Regions from separate parts of the Homo sapiens genome. Here region 1 is linked to region 2. The links are contacts of gene promoters, found by promoter capture Hi-C in human tissues and cell types (Jung and others, 2019). All regions are on one chromosome and are shown on one strand. The core of a region is centred on a gene start or on the middle of the fragment in contact, and the rest is flanking DNA. Distances in the headings are between cores, read along the strand shown.

Region 1 (5,757 bases), core at 3,116-5,615, 1.1 Mb before region 2:
TTCCCTTCTCTGCGTCCATGTGTTCTCACTGATAATGAACATTTTCATTGCCACCAAAAGTCTGCACATCCCCTTTGAATCTTATCCCCAGCACCTACTGATTTGCTTCTTGTCACTTCATATTAACTTGCATTTTCTAGAGTCTTATATAAGTGAAAATCTATAGCATGTACTCTGTTGCATCTGGCCCTTTCACTTAACATAATCATTTAGAGATTCACCCATGTGGTTTCTTGTATCCCTAGTTCATTCCTTTTTATTGCTGAGCAGTATTACATTGTAATACAATTTGTTTATCCACTCACTTTCTGATGATCAGTTGGGTTGTTTCCAGTTTGGGGATTTTACAAATAAAGCTGCTACAATTCATATACAAGTTTCTGAACAGATATATGCTTCCTTTTTTTTTATTTTGTAAACACTTAGGAGTGGGATGGTTGAATCAAATGGTAGATAGATATTTAATTTTTAAGAAACTATAAAATTGTTTTCCAAAATGATTGTATCATTTTACATTCCTACCAGCAGTGTATGAGAGTTCCAGTTCCTTCATATCTTTACCAGCACTTGCTATAGTCATTTTAATTTGAACTATTCTTCTAGGTGTGTAGTAGTATCTCATTATGATTTTAATTTTGATTTCTTTAATGACTAATAATGTTGAGCATCTTTTCATGTGCTTCTTGATATCCATATATCTTTGAGGAAGTGTCTGTTCAAATCTTTTGCTCATTTAAACAATTATGCTATTTGTTTTCCTATTGTTGAGTTTTGGGCGTTCATTATATCTTTTGGATCATCCTTTAACAGTGTATGCTTTGCAAAGATTTTGTTCCAGTTTGTGGTTTGTCCTTTTATTCTCTTAACATAATCTTTTAAAAAGCAAAAATTTTGAATTTTTAAAAATCTAATTTATCAATTTTTTCTTTTACACAGATTGTGTTTTTGGTGTCTTATCTAAGAAATATTTGCCTAATTCAAGGTCATAAATATTTTGTCAATTTTTCTTCTAAAAGCTTTATATCTTTTGGTTTTACATTTAGGTCTACGATCCATTTGGATTGATTTTTGTATGTGGTGTGAGATATTGGTCCAAGTTCATCTTTTTTGCATATGTATATCTAATTTTGCTGGCACTATTTGTTGAATGAGTTGTCTTTTGTGCCTTTATGAAAAACCGGTTGTACATATATATGTTTGTTTTATTTATGCAGGTATTTTTCTATAAATTAAAAAATTGATTATAAAATTCACTTGGAAATGCAAAGGACCTACAATAGCCACTACAGCTTTAAAAAAGAATGAAGTTGGAGGACTAGCTCTACATGATTTCAACATTTATTATAAAGCTACAGTAATCAAGACAGTATGGTATTGACATAAAGATAGACAAACAGATCAATGGATAGATTAGAGAGACCAGAAGTAAACTCATACATATATGGACAATGGAATTTTACTCAGCAATAAAAAGGAATGAATTTTGGCATCTGCTACAACATGGATGAATCTTAAAATAACTAGGCAAAGATTAAAGAGTCATACTAAAAAAGTGCTATTTTATGATTCCATTTATGCAGAATTCTAGAACATGCTAACTATTGTATAGTGATAGAAAGCTGATCAATGGTTTCAGGAACAGAGGACAAGGATGCGGAGCAACAGAAGAAGGAATTACAAAAGAACGAGAAAGCCTTAGTGGGAAATAGATTTGTTTATTTCATGCTTGAGATGATGGCTGCACAGGTGTATGTGAAAACTTACGTAATTGTACACTTTAAATATATGCAAGGTATTGTATGTCAAGCCTCAATTTTTACCAAAGTACCATAAGGAATTCCCCTGAAACAGTAGGAAGAATCAAAGAATGATTATATAAAGGTAGAGGGGAGGGCATCATAGGCTCTAGGAGAGAGAGGTTTTGTAGAGAGTGTGAGTGGGATGGGGTTCCCAAATGGATCTGGCAGATCCTTCTGGACATATAAATAACACAAGCACAGCCACGGAGTTGGAGATGACCATGGTTGCCATAGCATGTGGGGCCCAAATGGAGACTGGACCTTGTAGAATAGAGATGATGGTTGGGATGAGTTGAAATGGTCAGGATGAGAGAGGATGTGCTGTTTCTGTGAAGGCAGGAGTTTGAATTTAATGTAGCAAGTGACGGTAACAGTTTCTGAGCAGGAAAGTGAAATGATGAGCCCTCAACTTCCTTAAGGCTCTGGTTTTTGTCCACTCTCCCTGTGAGACTGTAAAAAATGAAAATTCAAAAATGTTCAGGATTGGCCAATGCCCTCATGGGAAAAGTAACTTTTGAGAATGCTTCTCTTTCTAGATTATTGTTTTCCCTTCAATTTTGGCGGGGTAATTCTTTACTCTCTTGCCAGCTTTTTGATGCCTCCCAGAAAACATTTTTAAAGTTGTATTTTTAGTTGTTTTTAGGGGAAATTTATGTTCAAATAATCTAACTTGTCTTTACCAGAAACTGCAAGTCTTTTTTATGTCTTTATTATTACTCGTTTTACCGTGATGTGGCAAACAGAACCAGTATTCACCACCATTCAGTTTTCCTCTCCTTCTGGACACATGGAAGACAAATCTCATTCACCTTGGGATTTAGTAGGGCCATGAGATCAATTCAAGATGATAGGTTACGAGTGAAAGCAATGTGTGTGTCTCTTCTAAGCTGATGCATGTAATTGCTGATAAGAGATCTTCTCACATTCTCTTCCCCTGTTGCTGTGGCGGAGGAGAAGTGTGTTTCAGGTGAAACAATTTCAAGATTATGGGGATCTCTGTCAGTCAGGTTCCCTGAAGGACTACATGGAAGAGATCTCTGCCTTTGAACCTGTGAAAAACATAGAAGGGATAAGAAATAAACTTTTGCTGAGTCCTGATATTTGGGGGTTGATTTTTTTTTTTTTAGGAGTTTAGGAGTTTAGGAGTGGAGGTTTAATAGGGAAAAGAAAAAGAAAGAAAGAGAAAGGAAAACAGCTCTCTCTTTAATCTGGGGGTTGATTTTTACTGCAGAATATCTTATCCTCACTAATACATAGACTGTATGAGGCTACTCTTCCTTTCCTTGCCTTCCCTTCCTCCCTTCCATTCTTTCTCCCTCCCTTCTTCCCTTCCTCCCTTAATTTTTCTTATTTTCTTTATGTTTTTCTTTTAAATTGAAGAAAAGAAGCCCAAGCTCACTGTTTGAAATTATTAAAAGTCTTGATAATTGGAAGAAGAAAACCTTTGGCATCAACTCACCCAATCCCCAACCTCAACCTCTATTTTAAAGTTTCAGACGTGGACTCCCAGACAAGGACAGAATGTCAAAACATTAATGCCAGGGTTTTGGGTCTTGAATTTCATTATCTTTCCATTCCACCATGTTACAGCAAAGATAATAAGTTATATGATGTTTTTTTCTTTTTCTCTTTTTAAAAGCAGAATAAATTATACTTATTTATATAGAAACAAAGACCCAATGGGGTAAGAAGAAGTTTGAATTTTTAGCACTAGGAAAATATAATTCATGCATGGTGAGTGGGCACATGGATTATTCTCTTCCTATATTTAAGATATTAATGTTTCTTTACCTCACACTCAAGGGAGAATATGAGTCATTTCCATGAATCCAACATAATGTGTGAATTGCAAAAAGCTTTTCAATTTTTAAAGATCATTCTGTAGTCATTTAGTCACAATATTTTCCTGTCCAAAGCTTAAAGATTGAAGCATTCTTCTTCTTTTTCAAATTTAAATTTGTTTGTTTAATTCACATAAAAATTATGTATATTTGAAGTATACAACATAATGTTTTAAAATATGCATACATTGTAGAAAGGCTACATTGAGGTAATTAACATATATATTACTGCATATATCATTTTTTTTGTGGCAAGAACACTTAAAAGGTACTCTCAGTGATTTTCAAGTATAGACTACATTATTAACCATAGATGCCATGTTGTACAATAGATCTCTTGAATTTATTCCTCTTATCTAACTGAAATTTTGTAATCATTGGCCATTTCCCCAAGCCCCCCACCCCCTAGCCCCTGGTAACCACCATTATACTCTCTGCTTCTACCTCTCTAGACACCCGCCCCCCCGAGTCAGATACAAGGGCACCCAGTTGGCAGAGCCTGGATCCCATGCCCACATACCTTGGGACCCGGGAGCAGAGGGAGAGGGACTATCTGCCCCTCTTTTGCTCTGTGATGAGAGGGAGGCTGGTTTCTCACCTAGTTTGGGATTTACCCATAGGAAGGATAGTTAAATGCTTGACAGCCACAGAAACAGTTGTTCTGGGGAAGTTTGTGAGTCTCAGGAGGGCAGTGTGTGTCACCTGTCTCTGACTGGTTTGTTCAGGGAAAAGCTGGTATTGGTTATAGCTCCATGGCAACGTTAAGCGGTTTGCAAAGTTTCCATTTGCTTTAGTCAATCCACACAGCGATTGTGTTGCTTTTTTCCTTCACCATCAATTACCTGCATGAGGCATGGATAAACTTTGATTTTGTTTCAACATACTAATAGCATGCTAGGGAGTGCTCCTGTTGCATGAAGCAATGATAAAGTTCTGCTTTAGGGCACAGATGGGTCCACCTTATACTGCCCATCTCATCATAACACACGTAACTTACGATGTTTTCAATTCATGATAGGTTTATTCAGACATAACCCCATTGTAAGCCGAGGAGCATCTGTACATACTTAGAGAAGTAAAACCTAAGTGTTCAGTTAATGAAAGTCAGAATGTGAACATTCATGAGTCTCTCTTGGGTGCCCCTTCTGGACTTCTGCATTTTCCTTCCCCTTAGATATAAGCACTATTTGGATGTTTATATATCCAATTCTTGTCCTTTTATTTCTTTTTCTTGCCTAACCTTTCCTGCTAGAATTTCTGGGACAATGTTAAATAGCAGTTGTGATAGCAGGCATTTATGTCTTATTCCCAAATTTGAAGGAAAAGACATGTTTATCATTAATCATGATGTCTGCTCTAAATTTGTTACATTTTATGACATTAAGGAAGTTGTCTATTATTTCTGTTTTGCTAAGAGTTTTTATCATGAATGGATGTTGAATTTGTCACATGCTTTTTTTCCTGCATCTGTTAAGATCCTCATTTTTATTTACTGTTTTAATATTTATTATTTACTATTTTTATGTGTGTGTTTCTTTTATTTACTGTTTTAAAAGGACTTTACAGAAGTCACCCCAGGACTAAAGTGGATAGAAAACATTTTTGGTTTTTCTTTCAAGTTATCCTACCTTTAGTACCATATATCACGCAATATTTGCCATATATCATGCAATATCAAGGTTGGAAGGAACCGTAGAGGTCATACACCACTATTATCTGTCACCCAGGCTCATGAATCATCTCTGTTGTTGCTAAGTGGTTGGTTGTTCACCTGCATCTGTTCGAATATTTTCGGGTATGAAAAATGTACTATCCTTGTCCATTCTATTTTTGGAAATCTCTGGTTCCAGAAAATCATTTATTGTGTGAGCTGAAATGTGCCTCAGTGTCAGATTCATGCTTTGGTCCAAGGTTTGCCCTATGGAACATGTAGGACAAGTGTTCCCTGAGGTATGGGTAGAGGCAGTGTGTTTAGTGGGAAGCTGGTAGTCTTCAGAATTAAGCAGATCTGGGTTCACTTTCTGGCTTAGCCATTGACAAGCTGAGTGAGTCTGGATACTATAGAAGATGGCTTAACAGCCATAATTCCTTCCATCCCAGTATGACCCTCCTTTGCA
Region 2 (5,773 bases), core at 2,334-4,833:
AATCCCATCTCTACTAAAAATACAAAAATTAGCTGGGAGTGTTTGGTGGGGGGTGCACCTGTAATCCCAGCTACTTGGGAGGCTGAGGCAGGAGAATTGGTTGAACCAGGGAGTTGGAGGTTGCAGTGAGCTGAGATCACTCCATTGCACTCTAGCCTGGTGACAAAGCGAGACTCCATCTAAAAAAAAAAAAACAAAACAAAAAACAAAAACAAATAAACAAAAAACCGGGTGCAGTGGCTCACGCCTGTAATCCCAGCACTTTGGGAGGCCAAGGCAGATGGATCACCTGAGGTCAGGAGTTTGAGACCAGCCTGACCAACATGGAGAAACCCCGTCTCTACTAAAAATACAAAATTAGCTGGATATGGTGGTGCATGTCTGTAATCCAGCTACTCAGGAGGCTGAGGAAGGAGAATTGCTTGAACCTGGGAGGCAGAGGTTGTGGGGAGCCAGGATTGCACCATTGCACTCCAGCCTGGGCAACAAGAGTGAAACTCCGTCTCAAAAAAAAAAAAAAGATAAAATTGCCTTGGATCATTATATATTATACAATGGAAATCCTTTGTCTCGAGTATTAGGACTTAAAGGGATATGAAGCAGAACTCAGGTGGCTGCTTTCTCCCATCAAGTTAAAAAAAAAAAAAAAGAAGAAAGAAAGAAAGGCTGTGGACCCTGGTACACATTAGCACAGCAGCTGGTCAACTCTGGTCATTTCTAGGAGCGCTGTGCTCAGAATCGTGTGCTATGGGCCCGGTGGATCTGCATTAATCTTTTCAAAAATGCAAATCTCAGCTTCAAATTCAACAGCCTCCTCTGGAATTTCAAAGAGTTCTGGGTTGTTTAAAGGTTGAGTGGAATTCCTGAGCCTGTGTTAACTGGTCACAGTCTACTGACTCTCATAATTAGCGCAAGACCACTGTGTTGTGTAAATGCCACTCAGTATTCAACAATGACTAACCACTCCATTTCAGATTGTTTACTTAAGTGGGGGGCTTTCATCCACAATCAGTGTTTCTGAGCATTTAACCTATTTAATACTGAGAGACGAGAGAGAAGGCGAGTTGCCCATTTCTCTATTTCTTCCCCTACACCCTAACCGCTCCCCAACTCCAGCCACCAAATCCCAGTATTGTGCGTAGCCCAGTTCTAAGTCTTGTCTGGCTATTAAGCTGCATGACGTTGGCTACCCTGAGCCTCAGTTTCCTTATCTGCAAACTCCAGGGGCAGAATTGGATGATGTCGAAGGTCCTTTCTACCTCTGAAATACACTGACTGGGGGAGAAGATGAAATGTCTCCTTTGTGAAAATCTAAACGTATTTATTACGTACCAAAAACCACAGCACGGCCGACTCCAGACTTGGGAAGTGTCTAGCAGTTGTCCACGTGTCGCCTGTCTTTTATTGCAATGGACCAGTGCAAGAAGTAGGAAGCTTGAGCAAGATCCAGTTTTAAAGATATCAGCCGAGTAACATTTAGAAAAATGGGCAGAACACAACAGCAGAGTAAGAAAGTAAAACTTGTCAACAAATTTGTATGGTTAAATGTGTGTGTGCGTAAGAGTCATGTTCACTCATATTTTATTTTTTAGGGATGATATTAGAACTGTATTTGGAGACAAAATGAGCCATGGGTCCTGGCTGAAATGCTAAACTGATACATAAACACCAAGGAGAGGAACTTGCTTCCTTCTAAGGGGTGTGGAAAGTTGGAGAATAAAAGAGCCTCGTGGGATAGGGGGCAGTGATGCCAAGTGCTATTTATGGGCTATTTATGGGCCACCAGAGATTGAACTGCCTGTGGGGAGAAGGATCCAGAAGGGACTCTGGGTAGCAGAAATATCTGAGATGGAGTTTTACCTTTTTTGATGTGGAGTGAGTGAAGAGAGCCTCCTCTTTTACTTTCCTTAAGAAATCTTCAGTCCAGTATACGTTATACATTAATTAAGTTGGTATTTTGAGTGTGTTGCTTTTCGGGGTATGTAGAAGAGAGGCTGAATTCTCATTTGGCTTGATGTTGGAATCAGGAACAGTCAACTTTGATACGGGGCACAAGAGCGGGCCATAGCTGATACCCTGGTTTCTCTGTCTGGGCCTGGCCTATCTTGTGGCTGGGTGCACACCTGCTTTATTTTTTACTTGAAATGTCTTCTTTTTCCACCTGTCCTACTCATGTCTTCAAAGCCTAATTTTCATTTTCCCTGATCACTCCACCTCCTCTCTGCCCTCATTCATTCATTAGTGACTACAGGCTGGAGATGCCAATTTCAGGGCTTCTGCCCTAAGCCCCCAAGGGAGCTGTGTGCTTCTTGAGTGCAGATACTTTGTTTCACTCTTCCCCACTCTACCCCCCAAACCAGAAGAACAGAGCTCCTGTTTCTTCCTTTCCATGGTAGGCCCAACACCTGGCTTTGTGCCTGGCACACAGCAGACATTCAACATTTGTAGAACTGATAGACTATTAGATTAGTAGTGACAAATACTCCCCGAAGAAAATGCTTATTTGAACATACATCCCAAATTTTCTGCCCTCCAGAAAATGCTTCCTTGGAAGGATTTAAGACAGTTTGATGTCTCTGCAAACATTATCTGCGTTTAGGGACCAACTTGCCCTTCTCAGCGTTCACCTGGGATGTCTTTATTCTTCCATTTAACCTTTACAGGGGACCCCGATGGTGACGTGTCCTTCCTAGGGGCCATTACCTCTCTCAGGGATCCTAGTGTCTGGTAGAAAACAACAGCTCCAAGTTCTCTGCATCCAAACTTCGCCAGGATACGCAGATAAACCTATTTAAAAAAAAAAATCTTTTTAAATTCTCAACTTGGTGGTGTAAATAAGGCCCTTGCAGCGCCCTCAAGTAATAATCAACGGCAGTCATTATGGAAGGAGGGTAGAGATGAGCGCCTTACTCAAAGCCAAGACATTCACAATTTCTCGGGCCGGCTGCCTGTGCCTGGGCGTGTGCACTGTGCACTCCGAAGCTGTGTGCGGCGGTGGCCTTGGAGGTGCGCGTGGCCTTAGGAATTCCCGCGGTCGGGCACCCTCCGCTTAACACCGGGCCGTGTCCCCGGCCTGGGAGCCGAGCAGCGCGGCTCTGGCATGCTAAGTGGGCAGCACTGGGGCGCCTTTGTTCCTCGCGGCCGTCTCCCAGGACCGGCTTCCCTCTGAATCTAAATGGGCTTCTCCCTCACCCGCTCCGCCCTGGCCTCCTGGCCTGGGCACGGCGCCCCTGGGTAAAGCGCGCCCGGACACCTGGGGCGTGGGCGTGCGGGGGCAGCCCGGGCTAGGCGAGCGCGGGAGAGGCGCCTGCGGTCCCAGCCCGGCCAGGCCCGAGCACCTGCGCGAGCCCGAGGGAGCGCCCGGCCCTCTGCCCCCGCCAGTCGCCGGCGCCCAACTTGGGGGTCCCGCCGTCCGCAGCCCCAAGTCTCGCGGTGCTACCGCTCTGACCGGGGAGCCGCGGGCCGGGCGCCCCCCGCCGCGCGACAAAGGCTGAACCGGGAGGAGGAGGCCGAGGAGGGGGAGGAGGAGGAGAGAAAGGCGGGGACGGCGAGCGGCCGCGGCGGCGGGGAGAGCGGAGGGAGCGCCGCCCGCCCGCGCCGTCCTTTGTGTGGCGGCGGCGGCGCCTGGGCCTGACCGGGTCCCCGGGGCTGAGCGCCGGGCTCCGCGCCGCCCCTCCCGCGCCCCTGCCAAGCGGGCGCCTATCCTCTCCGAGCAAGATGGCAACCCCGGCGGCGGTCAACCCTCCGGGTGAGTAGCGGCCTGGGCCCCGCCGCCCGCCGCAGCCCGCAGGCCTTGCCCGGGGCCGGAGCGGACCAGGCGCGCCGGGCGCCCCCGGGGGCGCGGAGCCGCAGCTCGGCGCGGTGGGTGGTGGAGCGGCTGTCACTACGCGGCAGCCGCAGCATCAGCACCAGAGCGGCATCTGCATCCCAATCGCTGCCCATCCGGTCCCGGGCAGGCGCCGGTCCGGACCCGCGGGCGGCCGGACGCTGGCCTCGCATCCTCGGGAACCCGAAGGGCAGGCCCGGGAGCCCCCGAAGTTCTGAAAATAACCGCCTTTGCCTTCCCCATCCCACGCATTTTTCTCTTCCGGTCCCGGCTTTTGTGGCATCACGGCGTCAGCCAGTCCTGGCTGGTGGAGGGCTCCGCGCTGACGGAGGGAAAAGTTTGGAGCTGGGATTCAACAGGGTACAACTCCCGGGACTCTCCCCTGCCCGCCCCGCCCACTAAGCGCTGGTCCTTTGCGCCCTTTGCGACTGGCTGCTGTGTGTCCTAACCCTCCGGGGGCACAAAACACCCAGCCTGTGGTCACCAGCGTGGAGCAGCCCTGGTCCTGCCCAGGTGACATCCTCTGCTTTCTGGTCTGACCTGTCCCCAGGGTGCAGTCTGTGACAACTGAGCTCATTAGGAAATATTTCAAAAATGGAAGAGTTCTTGATCAAGTGGCAACATTGACTTGTTTTGGTATTGTAGTAGGGAAGTTCCGTTTTCACTGGGAAAGTTCCCTACCTGATGAGCAGGGTGTGGGAGAAGAGAAACGTGAACATCTAAGCTAGTACAAACTTTTGGGTGTTGTGCAGAGGCTGCTGTGGGCACGGCAGGTTGCTGGGTCCCTGTGGAAGATGCAGGGAGAGTCACAGAGGGCGGCCCCCAGGAAATTCCCAGCAGAGGGAGGTCATGTGTTGGAGATAGGGAGGGTCGGGGGAGGAACAGCAATGCCTAGCAAAGAAAAGTGTCTCTCATCATAGAATTAGGAATGAAAGATCCCTTTCATCTAAGGCGGCCAGGGAAGGCTTCTGGAGATTGGACATTTCGGCTGAACCTTGAAAACGGGAATGTTTGAATATACAGAGCCAGTAGCAGAGGGGCATTGCAGGCGTAAGTAACAGTGGACTTGCTCTAAGCAAGTGCAGAGGTCAGTGAGTAGTTGGTGCACTGGGGATATAAGAGGCAGCAGTGGGATTTAACACTGAGTTGTTTGGATGTGACCAGGCTTTAAAGGACAGACTGAGGAGTATGGACTTTCTCTCTCCACATTAAGGGAGAGTCCTCTGCACACTTCCTAAGAACCAGAAAAATAAAATAAAATAGAAAAGAGAGAGAGAGACAGAGAGAGAGAGAGAGAGACCTCAATGGTATTGAACAAGGAAATCGCATGATCACTTTTTCTGGAAGACTGATTTGTCAGCTATGTCTAGGAAACATTCTAAGGAGGGAACAAGACTTGAGACAGGGAGGCCAGCATGAAATGAGGCAGGTGCTGGGGAGGCCAGAATTGGTGGCCATGGCTGGACCAGAGAGGAAGGAATGCACCACTGGGCGGGTAGAAGAGTTCCAGATTTGGCACTGATTAGATTTGGAGTAAGAGTAAAGGAGGAGGCCAAGGAGAGACAAAGGGGAGGTGTCCATGGAGACACCAAGGTGAAGAGCCTGTGTAATTCCAAGGAAGGCAGTTCCATCAGCAGAAATAGGGACTCTTGGAAGAACAGACAAGGAGGCCTCTGTCCAGAACACTGAGGAGGAACGTGGCTGGTCTGAAAACAAATCTGTGCCAGTTTGCCTGTGACTGAAGCTGCAATTTCAACCCATTCAACTACTTCAAAATCAATGGAAAATTGATAGATGTAAATGTTATGAAATTAGAAAAAGCAAAAGATGTTAAATGAAAACATTTTAGTCCAATATACACTGGGAACAGGAATAAAATCCCTGGTGATTTACATAATTTCTATGCCAGGACATCATTGTTTAAAACTTTTTTGTCCATTACATTGC

What was found. Contacts are between HindIII fragments. The study calls those that stand out against the background at their distance.
Region 1: a contact is called between a fragment that was not itself captured here and the fragment with the promoter of ARNT2 in region 2, in 1 of the 25 tissues and cell types used here (mesenchymal stem cells).

The regions. Positions count from the first base shown.
Region 1 is chr15:79,303,112-79,308,868 of GRCh38, forward strand. No RefSeq gene overlaps it. Among named protein-coding and RNA genes, the nearest start is that of TMED3, 5.1 kb to the right of the region's middle. The HindIII fragment of the contact is 4,061 bases long and covers 2,336-5,757 here.
Region 2 is chr15:80,400,799-80,406,571 of GRCh38, forward strand. ARNT2 (aryl hydrocarbon receptor nuclear translocator 2) reads left to right here and starts at 3,584. Exons shown (of 19, transcript NM_014862.4): 1 at 3,584-3,748. The coding sequence starts at 3,718. ARNT2-DT (ARNT2 divergent transcript) reads right to left here and starts at 3,398. Exons shown (of 6, transcript NR_184070.1): 1 at 3,193-3,398; 2 at 2,704-2,787. RefSeq lists an enhancer at 3,015-3,515. The HindIII fragment of the contact is 10,967 bases long and covers 335-5,773 here.